2 separate regions of the Homo sapiens genome follow, and region 2 is linked to region 1. Evidence: promoter capture Hi-C in human tissues and cell types (Jung and others, 2019). All regions are on one chromosome and are shown on one strand. Each heading gives the region's core, a stretch centred on a gene start or on the middle of the fragment in contact. The rest is flanking DNA. Distances are from core to core; before and after follow the strand shown. Region 1 holds the start of ZIC4 (Zic family zinc finger 4). Region 2 overlaps LOC440982 (a long non-coding RNA gene).

What was found. Contacts are between HindIII fragments. The study calls those that stand out against the background at their distance.
Region 2: a fragment that was not itself captured here is called in contact with the fragment with the promoter of ZIC4 in region 1 in 2 of the 25 tissues and cell types used here (ovary and pancreas).

What each region holds. Positions count from the first base shown.
Region 1 is chr3:147,402,203-147,408,949 of GRCh38, forward strand. It overlaps ZIC4 (Zic family zinc finger 4), which reads right to left and starts at 4,341. Exons shown (of 5, transcript NM_032153.6): 1 at 4,161-4,341; 2 at 526-610. The coding sequence starts at 595. RefSeq lists an enhancer at 5,157-6,347. The HindIII fragment of the contact is 11,475 bases long and covers 1,306-6,747 here.
Region 2 is chr3:147,448,798-147,455,544 of GRCh38, forward strand. All of the region lies in intron 1 of LOC440982 (a long non-coding RNA gene), which reads left to right. Among named protein-coding and RNA genes, the nearest start is that of ZIC1, 43 kb to the left of the region's middle. The HindIII fragment of the contact is 4,689 bases long and covers 363-5,051 here.

The DNA.
Region 1 (6,747 bases), core at 3,091-5,590:
GTCACTCCCTGTTCAGACACCACATTGTGGGAACCTCGTCACTACCACATTGCAGAAGGCTGGTATCCCTGGTAAAGATGATGTATATCATGTAAACCCCATCATCCAGATCAAAGTCTGCTTCTTTCATGGAAGCCAATACATGTCAAACCTCATTCCAATCAAATTGTCTGGAAATGAATTCAAGATGAATATGTCACAGAATAACGTGACAGTGGAATTGCAGAAGGTCAGGGGTGGTTGTTTCAATGAGAGAATCGTCAAATATTAATTCTGGAACGTCCAGATGAGTAGGCATTGAGGGGGATTAGCTGGCTGCTGGTGGGACGTTGTGTCATTGATTTGTGTGCAAATGTATTGAACACTAAGGAGTTCTAAGTTTCATTTGAACTCAAGAAACTCCCCCCAAACTCTCAACCCAACATAAACAAAAGACAAAACAAAACTTCCTACTTAAAAAAAAAAAAGAAGAAGAAGAAGAAAAGAAACCAGCAAACCAATATTCAAAGGAGGATTTTAACTTACTTGACTCTTTAAGAGTGTTTCGGTAAAGCCGTAATCGTTTCCTCATCACCAAGGATGTCTTGTATCTCATTTTCTGACTTTGAGCCTGTTTGGGAAGAAAAGAGTGACAGTCACTAGTTAAACAATTTTACACGTCTGTGTGGCAACATCCTGTGGTTTGAATGTATGAATGAAAGAAGGAGTTGATCTGAAGATCTTTCGGTCTTTCTTTGACCATTTTCAAATTTTGAAGCTAAAGAAAAGGATTTTGCCGGGAACAGCCCATATTGCAAAATGATATATCTTTGGTGATAAAAACATTGAAAAATTATAATTTCCCAGCTAGGCTTTTATTTGAAACTCCTTTGTTGTTTTTTGCAAGCAGAAGTAATCTCTCTTTTAGTCAGTGCTCAAAAATCTGTAGCTTCCCAAATTTGAATTAATTGCGTAAGAAACCTTATTATTTTTCAGAAGTTTATTAACTGAAATTTAGTGAGGTGTGGTGGGGAGAGCCTACTGAACTCTGAGAGGTTAGCAGCTAAAATTTGATTTATAACTGTTGGAACCAAGAGGAGAGGAATTTCTTTGCAGGTTTTCAAATCCTGTTCTGCCTGTGGTGGTGCAGAATTCCTTAGCCTCACATTTCCCATACCCCAGACCCATTTGGGATTCATCACCGGTTGACTTTTTAAAGTTAATATAAAATTTGTCAGGTTAAAAAGGTATAATTTTAATCGTTTGGTTCAAATCATCCACATTTCATAGTTGAGAAGGGTAGAAATAACACCTCCCATAAGATATACACATTACTCATCAGATTCACTTTGTGACTAAAGTTACCAAGCCATTGGCCGCCTTAAATACTTAAAGCCATCCTGAGGACCTCTGCATCTGTCAGGCAAGGCTGAGGCAGTTGAGCAGCCAGACAGAAGCATCTATCCGGCCCCCACCCTCAATTTGGCCTAGAAAGAAAAACAGTCATTGAAAAGGTCTCAGGCTGGACAAACACAGCAAGTCCTCTGTCAATGGGGATGTCTGCCCACAGAACAAGCAGTTGTTTAACTTGTTGAACCACAGGCCAAATCCAAGTGGGACTCTGTTATCTTAAACGGTATCCAGTTCTCTATGCACAAAGATCTCTCTCTCTCTCTCTCCCCCTCAACGTCCAACCAGAATTCCAACTGGCTTGGCGGCTTTTACCCTTCCATCTCCCCTCTTTTCTAGGTCCAGGCCTAGGAGGCAGGGGGGTAGACTCACCTTTTCCCAGAGGGTATTATTATTTTCAATTCTTTCTAACCAAAAGGCATTCTTCCCCAAAGGTAATAAGCTCCTTCCAGCACAAATCAGGAAAGAAAGGAGGCCTAACTTTGCATTCCTACAGAAGGGCGGCATGCTGGGCGTCCTCGCTCTGAAATTTCCTCATGGCAGGATGTCTGGCATGGAAAAGTCCTGGTTGGTTGGCAATAATAGAATTTACTCTTTTGCTTCTGGGGGAAATGGGTGTGAGGTTCCCTAGAGATCCCTGTCCACCCATAAGGCAGCCCCAACCCAACTTCTAAGAGGTCTGGATCACTTCTCTCCCAGGTCCTGTCAGCCTTTTGTGCACTACAGACCCATAGACATGCAAACAAATATTGCAGAGATTGGACTAGGGCAGGCAACAGGGACCTTAGGAGGCTCTCTGTAGCGTTTCCATCACACAGCCTACACAGGGAACTAGGGTAAACATCTCCTTTAGTTCAAACTCTGACACCACTTAGCAAACAAGCCAGTCATCTTGCTGAAAGAGAGGTGAGAGAATTTGGGAGCAATCCTGGGGCCCGTGGACCTGAGGTCCCAAACAACCACGGAATGTAGAAACTCAGTTTCGTTTTCCCCAAATGCTTGCTCCCCACATCAACCACGGCCTCCTAATTACCAGTCCATAGCACATCCTGGAGACTTTTTGGAATCTGCCCTCCTGGCCCCACCTTGAGAAGAGGAACGGGTGCCAGGGAGCTCCAGTGATTGATAGTGCCGGAGGAGAGCCAAGAAGGTGGGACAGTGGGTAGGTGCAAAAAGCACCATTTTTATTTGGGGGAGCCTCGGAAGCTGCAAATTGTGGGGCCGACCTAGCCGGCGCAGGACTACCCAAGGTCAGAGGTCAGCTGCAGCTAGAGACTTCAGTTCCCGAGCTGCTCCTTACTGACTAGCCGGCAGGCGCGGGAAAGGCATGCCCACCTCTCCGCTGCAACTTGTCCCTGGCGGGCGCAGAGCAAAAACCCTGAAAGCTGGCAGGGAGCTCTGAGCCAGAGAGGAAACTGGCCCCGGCCTTTGCCCGCTGCCTGATTTACTCATCTGCACCCTGCACCTTTCTGGCTCCCCTCCATTCGACCCTCAAGCGCCAGGAGTTTGCTGAGGCTGGGTTGTGCAGGGGCCTTTACTCATTCTCCTGTTCTCTAGAGGGAGAAGCTTGGGTTTCCCAGCTCGGGGCTGAAGTAAGTGTGGGCAGCATCCGGGTGCCCAGAATAGAGTTTGTATCAGTAGATCAGGCTGGGCATTTAGCCCTCCCTTTGAATCACCCCTCCCCCAACCTGCAGGCGGCTGAGACAGGAGAAAAAAGAGCAGCATGCAGTGGTGTGGGTCGCTGCGAGGACAATACTGTCGGAAAGCGGGGAAAACATGACCTTGGAATCCAAAGGGAGTTTCCTGAAGACGGTGACGGCCGAAGTGCAACCCTCCAAAAGCCCCTCCGCTTTCCTAAGACTTTGACATGGGCCATTCATCAACCCCAACTTTCAGATCCAACCTTTGAGCCAGTCCTAGCTTTCTTTCACAGCTCAGCTCTATTCCCTCCTCATTGGCCCCTAATTTCCAATGCCCCTGGGTCTAGGCTAGGGGCCAGAATCCTAGGAGCTGCGGCCTGCTCCCCAGAGAGCTAGTTGCTGCTCTTGTTCGCATTGGAGATAAAGAAAGCCAAGTCCCGAACCCACTGCTGGCCGCGCGCAGAGAGCAGATCCCAGCAGTCAGCTTCCTGAGGCAGGACCAGGGTGAGGGAGGGCAAGGAGCCGCCCTGAGGTGGACTCAGGCGGCATCTGCCGTCAGGTTGGGGCGGAGAAGTTCCATCGTCTTGCTGCCATCTGGGCTAACTTGGCGCTTTGACCCTGGAGAGGGGAAGCAGAGACTCTCCTAGCCACCCCCTTGGGGGCAGAGCAGAGATACCTCCTGTAAAGGCCCCCTCCCGGCACCCGCCTTGCTCATTTTTCGCGAGGGAAGCTCTGGGCCACGACTTCCATTCTTGTGCCCACGGTGGGGCACCCAGGCAATTCACAAGGAGAGAAGGGAAGGCAGGCAGGCAACAAACTGCTCCTGGTTCCTGTGCCAGTGGGAGCCCCATTTGTACCCCTTTTCCCTCCTCCTGGGAAGAAGGGATGGACTCATCCTCTGCGTTGCCCCTTTGCGGAAGGGCCCCCTCCTCCCCTTAGTGTCAGTGGGGTGGGGCCTTTATCCACGGTTGGGGGAGGGGGGTAGGATGAAGGAGGAGATGGGGCAGAAAGACTGGCTGGGCCTCTTCCCCCACTGGGGTTTGGGTGCCAGTGGTCCCCTTGAGGGTACTTGCTACCCGGTCGCTGGAGGTACAGTTCTCATCTGTCTGCCCCCTGGACTCACGCACTTACCCCACTCCACCTGTTGCCAGGATCGCCTCATTTCTGCACATCATTTCGGGGTGGCTGAGAGGGGACCACAAACCCCTCCAAGCCTCTCTTTTGTGGTTCCAGCGAGGCGGTCATCCTTCACTTCTCCTTTTCCAGCTTTCAGGAAGCAGTTAGGGAATGTATGATGAAGCAGAAATGAGCCGTCAGGATGATATTTTAATGGCTTATATGTCACGTTGGTGCATGTGGCTTTGAACTGGAGCCGTTCGCGTTTCCTGCAGAGAGCGCCGCAAATCCCACTTGATAACTTCTACAACCCACAACTTTTTTTTTTCTCACATTCACTCTTACCCTGTATATTTGGATGTGTTTCCTAAAAATACCCTCTTGTCAACGTCCCCGTTGGATTTTCCACGGACTGGAGAGGAGAAGACTGACTTTTCTTTTTTGAAGAATTATTTTCCCTCTCCCCCTCCCAACAGCTACCCTTCCCCCCTTAGGTCCCCTCCCTTGTTGTGTGTGTGTGTGTGCGCCCGCGTGTGTTTCCTGAAAGGCGGGCGAGGTGGGTTCAATATCTGTTCTCCCTAGTGAGAGGAATACAGCCTCTAGAGAAAACTTCTCCATACAGATGAGGTTTTCTAAACTCCAGGGGAAGCAGGATCCAACTTCCCCTTGTAGGTAAAAAGACTTAGTGCCTCCGATATATCTTTTTTTTTTCCAACCAAGTGTACAATAATTTTTAAAGATACCTCGGCCCTTTCTTTACCTCCACTCCTCATTCCATTCCACTCAAAGTTGGTGGGAAATGCTGGGCTGCTAGACTCAGACTTGTTGATGGGAACAGAACAATTAATTTTTTTTCCGAATTTATATTTCCCGGCACAAGCACAAATGCTCAGCCAGGTCCCTTCAGGCACCGGGAAATCATCCCGGATACCCAAGCCGACTTTTGAGCAAGCACAGCCCATGGAAAGGGCAGTCCCGCCGGCCAGCCCCAAGCGAGAATCTAGTTGGTGAGAAGACCAGAAAACCAGAAAGGCGAGGAGCGGCGGACGCTGACCCTGCCTTCCTCCAGCCCGTGCAGTCAGCGCTGGCGTCAGGGCAAAAAATATATTCATTTTCATTTTCCTCTCGCTGGGGCACGGTGAGTTTCCTAACCGGGCCGCCTATGAAAGGATGAGTTGAGGTTTCTTTGTTTGGAAAAAGAGTTTAGGGCTTTGATTCAGCTGCAAAGAAGCCAAATGAAGTTAGAAACAAAGGGTAAATTGAAGGATTCCGACTCTTGGCTTTTTGTGTTTTCCTTACTAGAAAATAATTAGACCTAATGAATATGCAGACGCTTCAGCTAAAGCCTCGGCCAGGACTGCTGGGTTTTAAACAGAGCTGCGGAGAAATGCAACCTTCGTCCCCACAACCCCCCGCATCCGCGTGCATTTTTTGAAATGCATAAATGTTGCTCGGCTTAATTGATTGAGTCACAGGGATTTTTTTTTCCTGCTTTTAAGTACCATACTCCCCTACCTTTCAACAATCATTTTAATATATAGTCAATGGCTCTTTGTGGAAGGGACAAAAAGAAACTACGCGCAGTTGTTGAATAGACTTTGCGCTAGGCAAAGACAGGTTAATCGAGGGCCGCATCGCGAAAACAAGCGAGTGTTGTATGTTTGCACTGAATCCAAATGTCTGCATTTTCCTAACTAAATCAAAGGGAGTGTTATTTCTTTTTCTGCTCACTCATCTGAAGGTAAGTAAATTTTCTCTGGCGATCAAAAGCCTGGTCGGCAACAAAGACCGCGCCCGCTTTTTCCACCGTCCTGGTGTGGCGAGTTGCGGAATTTCAATAACTGTGACAAGGGTGACTGATTTGTGAACTAGAAAAGGTTTGAATGTCACAAAATTTACATTGGTCCTATCTATTGGGGATTTAAATACCGAAAAAGTATTCGGGGATCTCTAGGGAGCTTTGGGCAGCCCAAGGGAACAATAGCGCGTTGGGAAATTTACAGTTTTACCTGAATGAAAGGGGCCCAAGTAGGGAACAGGAGTGAGGAGAGACAGGGTTAGCGGGGGCAGTCGAAGGAGACAACGGAAAGGCAGAAAACAGAAAAATAACGCAAGAGAGAGAAAAAGTAAAGGAAACTGGCAACAACGTTTCAAATTTGCCATTAAAAAATTCAAACCTCAATAACCTGGGAACTTAAGCGCTTTCATCCACCTGTGTGTGTGAGTGTGTGTGTGTGTGTGTTTTCGGGGAGGGGGGTGCGGTGGTGCCGGAAGTCTGATTAGATAAAAGCGAGAAATACAGAGGCTGCCGGTTACACTGAGAAATTACATTTTTTTGTAAAGAGAGCATAGTGCCCGTGTGCTCCCAAGATCTTAAATTATAAACAGGAGGGGGACAAAGCAAGAGGGAAACAAACTTCAAAAGGAGCAAATAACAAAAGCCTCTTTTGCTGCTCTTGAAGGGAGGGGGGAAGGGGGAAGAAAGAAAAGAAAGTTGCTGAATCGGGACATTCTGGAAGTGCCTTTGCTGTGTTTACTAGCCCCATCCCCGCCTGCTGCACCCGGAGACGTCTGAAGTCTCTAATCGCTCAGCGAAAAGTTG
Region 2 (6,747 bases), core at 1,457-3,956, 45 kb after region 1:
GTGAGAACATTTAAAATTTATGCTCTTAGCAATTTTTAAATAAATTTACATACTTTATTGAAAAAAATATCCTATGAACAACCTTATTTTCAGTTAAAAAACTTTTTTTCCTACTAAAGATAATACTACAGTGAGCATTCATACCGATGTATGAAGATAATTATTGGAGACATTCCTAAAGTTGATTGTTGCCTCTAAGCATTTTCATTTTTATAGTTATTGCCAAATTCTCCTTTAATGAAGTTGCTTCAATGTACTCTTTCACTAACAACATTTGAAAGTGCCTGGTTTCAGACTACATACTGTCAAACTTTTCAATCTTTGCAGACAAAATCATTCTTCTTCTATAAATAGGAAGCAAATAATCTTCCTTTTTTCATTCTTCTGCCACCATTAATTTTCTTGGTTTTAACACAGAATAAGATATTGAATTTTATAACTTATTAGAGTTAACCATAACTTTCAAATGTTGATGATGTAATCACTCCTTATAAGGGAGAACAAGGTGTTTCTCTGGGCCTGCTTTCAATTTCCATGCTTCGATCTCTCTTTGCTTTAACTCTGCCCACATGCTGGTATGTGGCAGTATTAATTAGGCATTCTGTTTTTTGAATCTCATGTAGAATGTTCATCCAATTCATTTATTACAAAATTAAAAAAAAAAGAATGAACACAGCCATTAGAGATGTTGCAAATAATTTGAGTTAAATGTAAATGTAGAAAGAAAATAGGGAAACTACTATTAAGCACACCTTACCCTCTGCAATGGAATACAATACAGATTTACAATGTCAATTATTTCCACCATGTATCTTTTTAAGAGTTGAGAGATTTGAAATATGAATATGTCAGGTATTTAAATACTAAGTTACCTAAAAATGTACTTTATTAAAATATCATTATGCATATTTTAAAGTTAAAACTCTGTGCTATGTAGATGTAGGGGTAAAATTCCCATTTATTGTCCACTGAATGTGAGGGAAATTGGATTTGTCAGGAAGCTGATTGATATCTGGAAGTGTTTTGTTTTCAGCGACTGGCACTGCCGAGTTACAACCATCTATCATCTAACAGGTAATTAGTCAGATTTCTCATCATGAGCCTTCAATCCTGCTGTTTTATTATTGAAATACCACAAACCAGCAGGCAATTTGAATGCAGATAAAGTTCTCTGTCATGGTCTTAAGGACAAAGACAACATTTTGCAATTCAGCAGTAGTGAGTTTGAATGAAAGTCACCGAAATGTAAGTGTGGGTCTTATAAAAAAATAAATATGAAAAATTTAATTTGATACTCCATTTGTCCTCCATAGTGACAACTGAGAAACTTGCTGTTTATAAAAGCAACCTAGTGTTCTAATATAAATTTGCTTTATTATAACATTTTACAATTTGAAAGTTAAGCGAAGAAACACATTGCATGGAAAATAAAGTTAGATAAAATAAAATAAATGAACTAGGTCTTGAATAGCTTTTATTCATTTTCCAAGGTATTTTGAGATGATGGATGAAAATAATTTATATTTAACAGTAGCTAAGAATATGAAAATTTTACTCCTCTTAGAATTATTTCTAATAAGAAAGTTTAGATATTAAAATAATTGGAAACTAAAGATGAATTATTTGTTTGCTTTTACACATGCTTTGTATTAGATAAGCTTGCTTCTGAAGTTGGGGCTAACACACTTTTGAGGCCTTCTTGTATGGTTTATGGATCTCAGACAGCTGATTTATGTTATTGGCATCCCAACAAGAATGGTAACTTCATAACACTGACTGTTATTTTCTTGACTTAATTCAAAATCATATATTATCTTTCTGAAAAATAGATCTCAGAATACTTCAGCTTTCCCAAAAGTCACAGGACACCATAGTCATTACCGCTTGATGAAGTATAAATATAATGTCTCTTTCTTCAAAATTTAGTGTCAGAATAAATACACTTACATGCTTTCTCAAACCTAAGTTAAATAATAATTTTCTTTAATCCAAACATATTAAATATGTAGCACATATACATTAAAATTAACCAGATCAAGCAGTATTTTAATTCAGTTGCTTAATTACATCTTCTGGTGAATAATAGGTTTTACCAGAAAAAAAATTTTAGACTACTTGAAAACGATGGTGTAATACATTTTTCTTACAGTATCTTTATTAAAGATACATCAATGTACACATATATCTTTGTATTTTTACAATAGCATTAACTTTGGTTCTACCATTAACATTTTATAAGATCTTTTCCTATGAAAACAAATACCAATTTACTGTAATCATGGTTACTTACAGTATCTAAATCCATTATTGTAAAAAGGCAAACCTGTGATAGGCATCACATGGAGAATAAAAAATTAAGAGACTAATTGTAATATTAAATAAGCAATCTTGTTATATAGATACATGTAATATTGCATGTTGCATGTATTGTTACTCAGAGTAGAAAGAACATGTGAGAAGTTTCCTAACTTGGATAAGAACATCACAAATTTCTATTCTCACACAAAATGCCAATTTACTAGTTCCCTGAAGATTTTACTTAGATAACTGTTATGCAACACCAAATAAACACAAGCTGAATTTCTGTTTATTAACACAATTTAAGTCTAATTCCAAGCTTTTACAGGCTTGGCCCATGGTACATAAGCGTACTGAGTTTTATTTCTGGTTTTACAAGAATGGAAATTTTAGATGTCTATATTGATCACTTGACTACACTGCAGTATATTAACAGTAGCGAATAATAACCAAGATTTGTTGAGTGGCAGGTGATACACTTAGCACTTTAGGCTTACTTGCTTAACTTCTCATGTGTGAGCTACTATTATTCTCATTTTTCAAGAAACACAAATTATTTTTTACACACACAGTTGTACTTTTGGGGGTATATGGGAGGCAATCTGGCATATTGGGAAAAAACCATGAATTTTGTTGCCAGAAAGACCTAGGTAAAAATATCTTTATTTCACCAGTTACTAAGAGGGTATGTCCTAGAGTGAATTTCTTGACCACTCTAAACCTTAGTTTTCACCTTTATAAAATGGGGATTGATGAGATCATCTTTTCCAGCTATTCTGTGTGTCTGGTGTATGCAGTTACTGGACAACATGCTCCCTTCCCATATGCCCCTATTTCTTCCCATCTGAAAGCTGCATAAGCTCTTCTGACTCATACTTCAGCAAGTTGAGACATAGCAATATAACAAGAAACTTTATCTGAGTTATTTGGCTTAATTTAACTGGGATAAGTTATAGTCAATAAATTCTTTAATCTCAGGTGTACTTTACTAAGTGAATTAGCTTATATTCATGAGTTTTTGGGAAGATTATCTAATAAACGAAGATTGTAACATACCTGCCTATAAGAATGATTGAAATGGTTGGTAGTATGTAACGATATATGTCTTCAATGCTTGGTCCTAGTATATTTGCCTTAGTATTTCTTAATAACTATATTCCTTAAAGTGTGTTCTGTGAATCAATAAAGTTAGAATCATCTGAGGTGCTGAATAAAAATTCAGATTTCTGGGCCCTACTCAGAATGGGAAGAGTAGACTGATTACCTCCGGGACATGGTGATTGAGTTGGGTTTTGAAAGATGTGTAGAATTTCACCCTGGAGACACAGGTGGTTGAGGGCAAAAAGGACCTTCCAAGCAAAAGGAACTGTAGATTAAAATATACAATTATGAGAGGTGAATTTTGAAGGAGTGCTTTTATATACTGTTCTTTGAAAATATAAGTTGTCGGCCGGGCGTTGTGGCTCGCGCCTGTAATCCCAGCACTTTGGGAGGCCAAGGCGGGTGGATCAGCTGACGTCAAGAGATCGAGACCATCTTGGCCAACATGGTGAAACCCTGTCTCTACTAAAAATACAAAAATTAGCTGGGCATGGTGGAGCGTGCCTGTTGTCCCAGCTATTCAGGAGGCTGAGGCAGGAGAATCACTTGAATAGGGGAGGTGGAGGTTGCAGTGAGCCAAGATCGCACCACTGCATTCCAGCCTGGTGATAGAGCGAGACTCCATCTCAAAAAAAAAAAAAAAAAAAAAAAAAAAGAAAGAAAGAAAAGAAAAAGAAAATATAAGTTTTTACAGACTTTTTGGAAGCTTAATGGGTAGTGTTACAATGAATTTGTACAAATATTCGACCCCGCCTTTCCACTTTTTGATATATATTCTAGGGAAACCCTCATATAGATGTATATGTTTTAGGAAACAATTTACATTTTTACTCATCAAGGGAATAATGGATGAATAACTTATAGTGCCTTGACTTACTTATTTTTCAAATATTTATTTATATTTATTATTATTGATATCTGTGAGTAGCTAGCATGTGTCAGGCACTCTTCTAGGCACTGAAGATAAAGCATTGAACTAAACAAAGAAAAACATCTGCCCTTGGGAGCTTACATTCTAGTAGGTGGGATATAGGCAAGAAACAAAATTTTAAAAAGTAAAGTACTAAGAAAAATGGTAATAAATATTATGGAGAAAAAGACAACAGGAAATGCAGAGTCAAGGTAGGGACATGTGAAAGGTGGTTTGCAATTTTAAATAGTATGATCAGGGAGGACTCAATCAGAAGGTAACCTTTGAACAAATCCCTAAAGGATGAGAGGGAAGCAATCTTGTGGATATTTGGAGAAAAAGCATCTACTTTTAGTTCAAGTAAGTGCAAAGATCCTGTGGTGAAAACATGCCTGGTGGTTTGTGGAACAGCAAGGAGGCCATCTAACTTAGTAAAGTGAGCAAAAAGGTAATTTTGCGGGTAAGGCTTGTAGGTGTTGTGAGGACTTTGGCTCTAACTTTGAATGAGGGGGAGCTATTGCAGAGTTTTGAGCAGAAGACTGATGTGTCTGCTTTATTATTATTATTTTAGATGGGGTCTTGTTTCATTGCCCAGGCTAGAGTACAGTGGAGTGATCATAGCTCACTGCAGCCTTGACCTCCCATGCTCAAGCCATCCTCCCACCTCAGCCTCCCAAGTAGCTGGAACTGAAGGCACACGCCACCACACCCAGCTAATTTTTAAGAATTTTTAGTAGAGATGGGGTCTCTCTACACTGCCCAGGCTGATCTTGAACTCTTGGGCCCATGGAATCCTCCTGCCTTGGATTCACAAAGTGTTGGGATTACAGGCATGAGCTACCATGCCCAGCTTTATGTTTTAATAGAATCATGTTGATGCTGTGTAGAGAACGCACTAAAGGGAGGGCACGGGTGGAAGCAGGGGAAGCAGTTGGGAGGCTATTGTAAATAACCAAGTAAGAATGATTGTAGCTGTGACCAGAGCTGTGAAGGTTGATGTGAAAAGAGCTTGGATGCTGGATGTACATATATGGAAGATAGGGCCACCAGTATTTCCTGACAGATAAATAGGATGTGGAAAGAGAGACAGAAAAAAGTAGGACAGAATTCCAAGGGCGTTAGCCTGATCAACAAGGAGAGCAAGTGAGTGGCTGGCTGGGAGGAAGGTCAGAAGTACAGATTTAGACATAGTGTGTCTGAGATGTCTATTAGACATCTTATTAGGATAGGCATTTTTATATGTGAGTCTGCAGTTCAGGGGAAAGGTCTGGACCAAAGACGTAATCCTGAGAACCGTTAGTGTGTGAATGGCATTTAAAGGCATGAGATAGACAAGATCTCCAGGGTTTCCAGATGAAGGAGATTCCTAGGGATTCCAGGATTTGTAGTAATATTTGGAAATTAAGAAGAATAAGGGACATGATAGCATCTTATAATACTAACTAGCCAACACATATAGATTTTATGTTGTATATCACACACTGTTCTAAAAGATTTTCATTTAAACCTTTCATACAAAACCCTATGAGAGAGATAATATTATCATTATTCCCATCTTCCAGATGAAAAAAACTGAGAGAGGAACTGGAGTGACTTGCCTGGGGTAACATAGGTGATAAAGGGGCAGAATTGGGGTTTAACTCTTGGCCATTTGTTCTCAACCACAGACGAGATGAAGTGAAAAATAAGCTTCAGAATAATGTTCAGCATAATATAAATATAAAGACCTAAAAAAGGTCATTTATTTCTGTATACGAATGCATATAAAAATAATTGCAAAGGAATGATCTGGACATATACATGTTGCACAAGAATTGTTTGGGGTGGCTCAAGGAGGTTTCAAATGTGTTAGTGGTATTAGTTGCATCTTTTGAGAAATGAAGAACTACTGGCGTATGCCTCAGTTTCCTGATACACAGTGTTTGCTTATTCCTACCCACTTCATTACTCTTAAACCTTAGTAGATTCTCACTTAAAAAGGTTCCTGGACATGAATTAGAAAAATAATGCTTAGGGATATTGCCTAATCTTAGAAACTATTGGACAAATCAAGTTCCATATTTTTTAAATATAATTTTACTACAAGAAGATTCCATCAAAATGAAATTTGTCACAATAGACTTTAGGTTGCATAAGGCAGCATGTATCACTTGCTACATATTCACTAATTTGGATTGGTAATACCTGCCTACAGTATAAATAATTTTCACAAATGAGTTTTTGGATTGTACTTCAGTGTGCTCTATTATGCTAATATTTCAAATATCTTTTGAAGGAAAATACTAACTCAATCAAAGAATGTCTCTTTAAAAACTTGCCCATGCAAATATCCTTGATTATTAATTCATTGAATCATAAATAAAATATAAGTTAAATTAATTTTGACTTTGCATTCAGTTTCATCTTAAGGCCACATTCTGCCCTTTTGCGTACCAGCT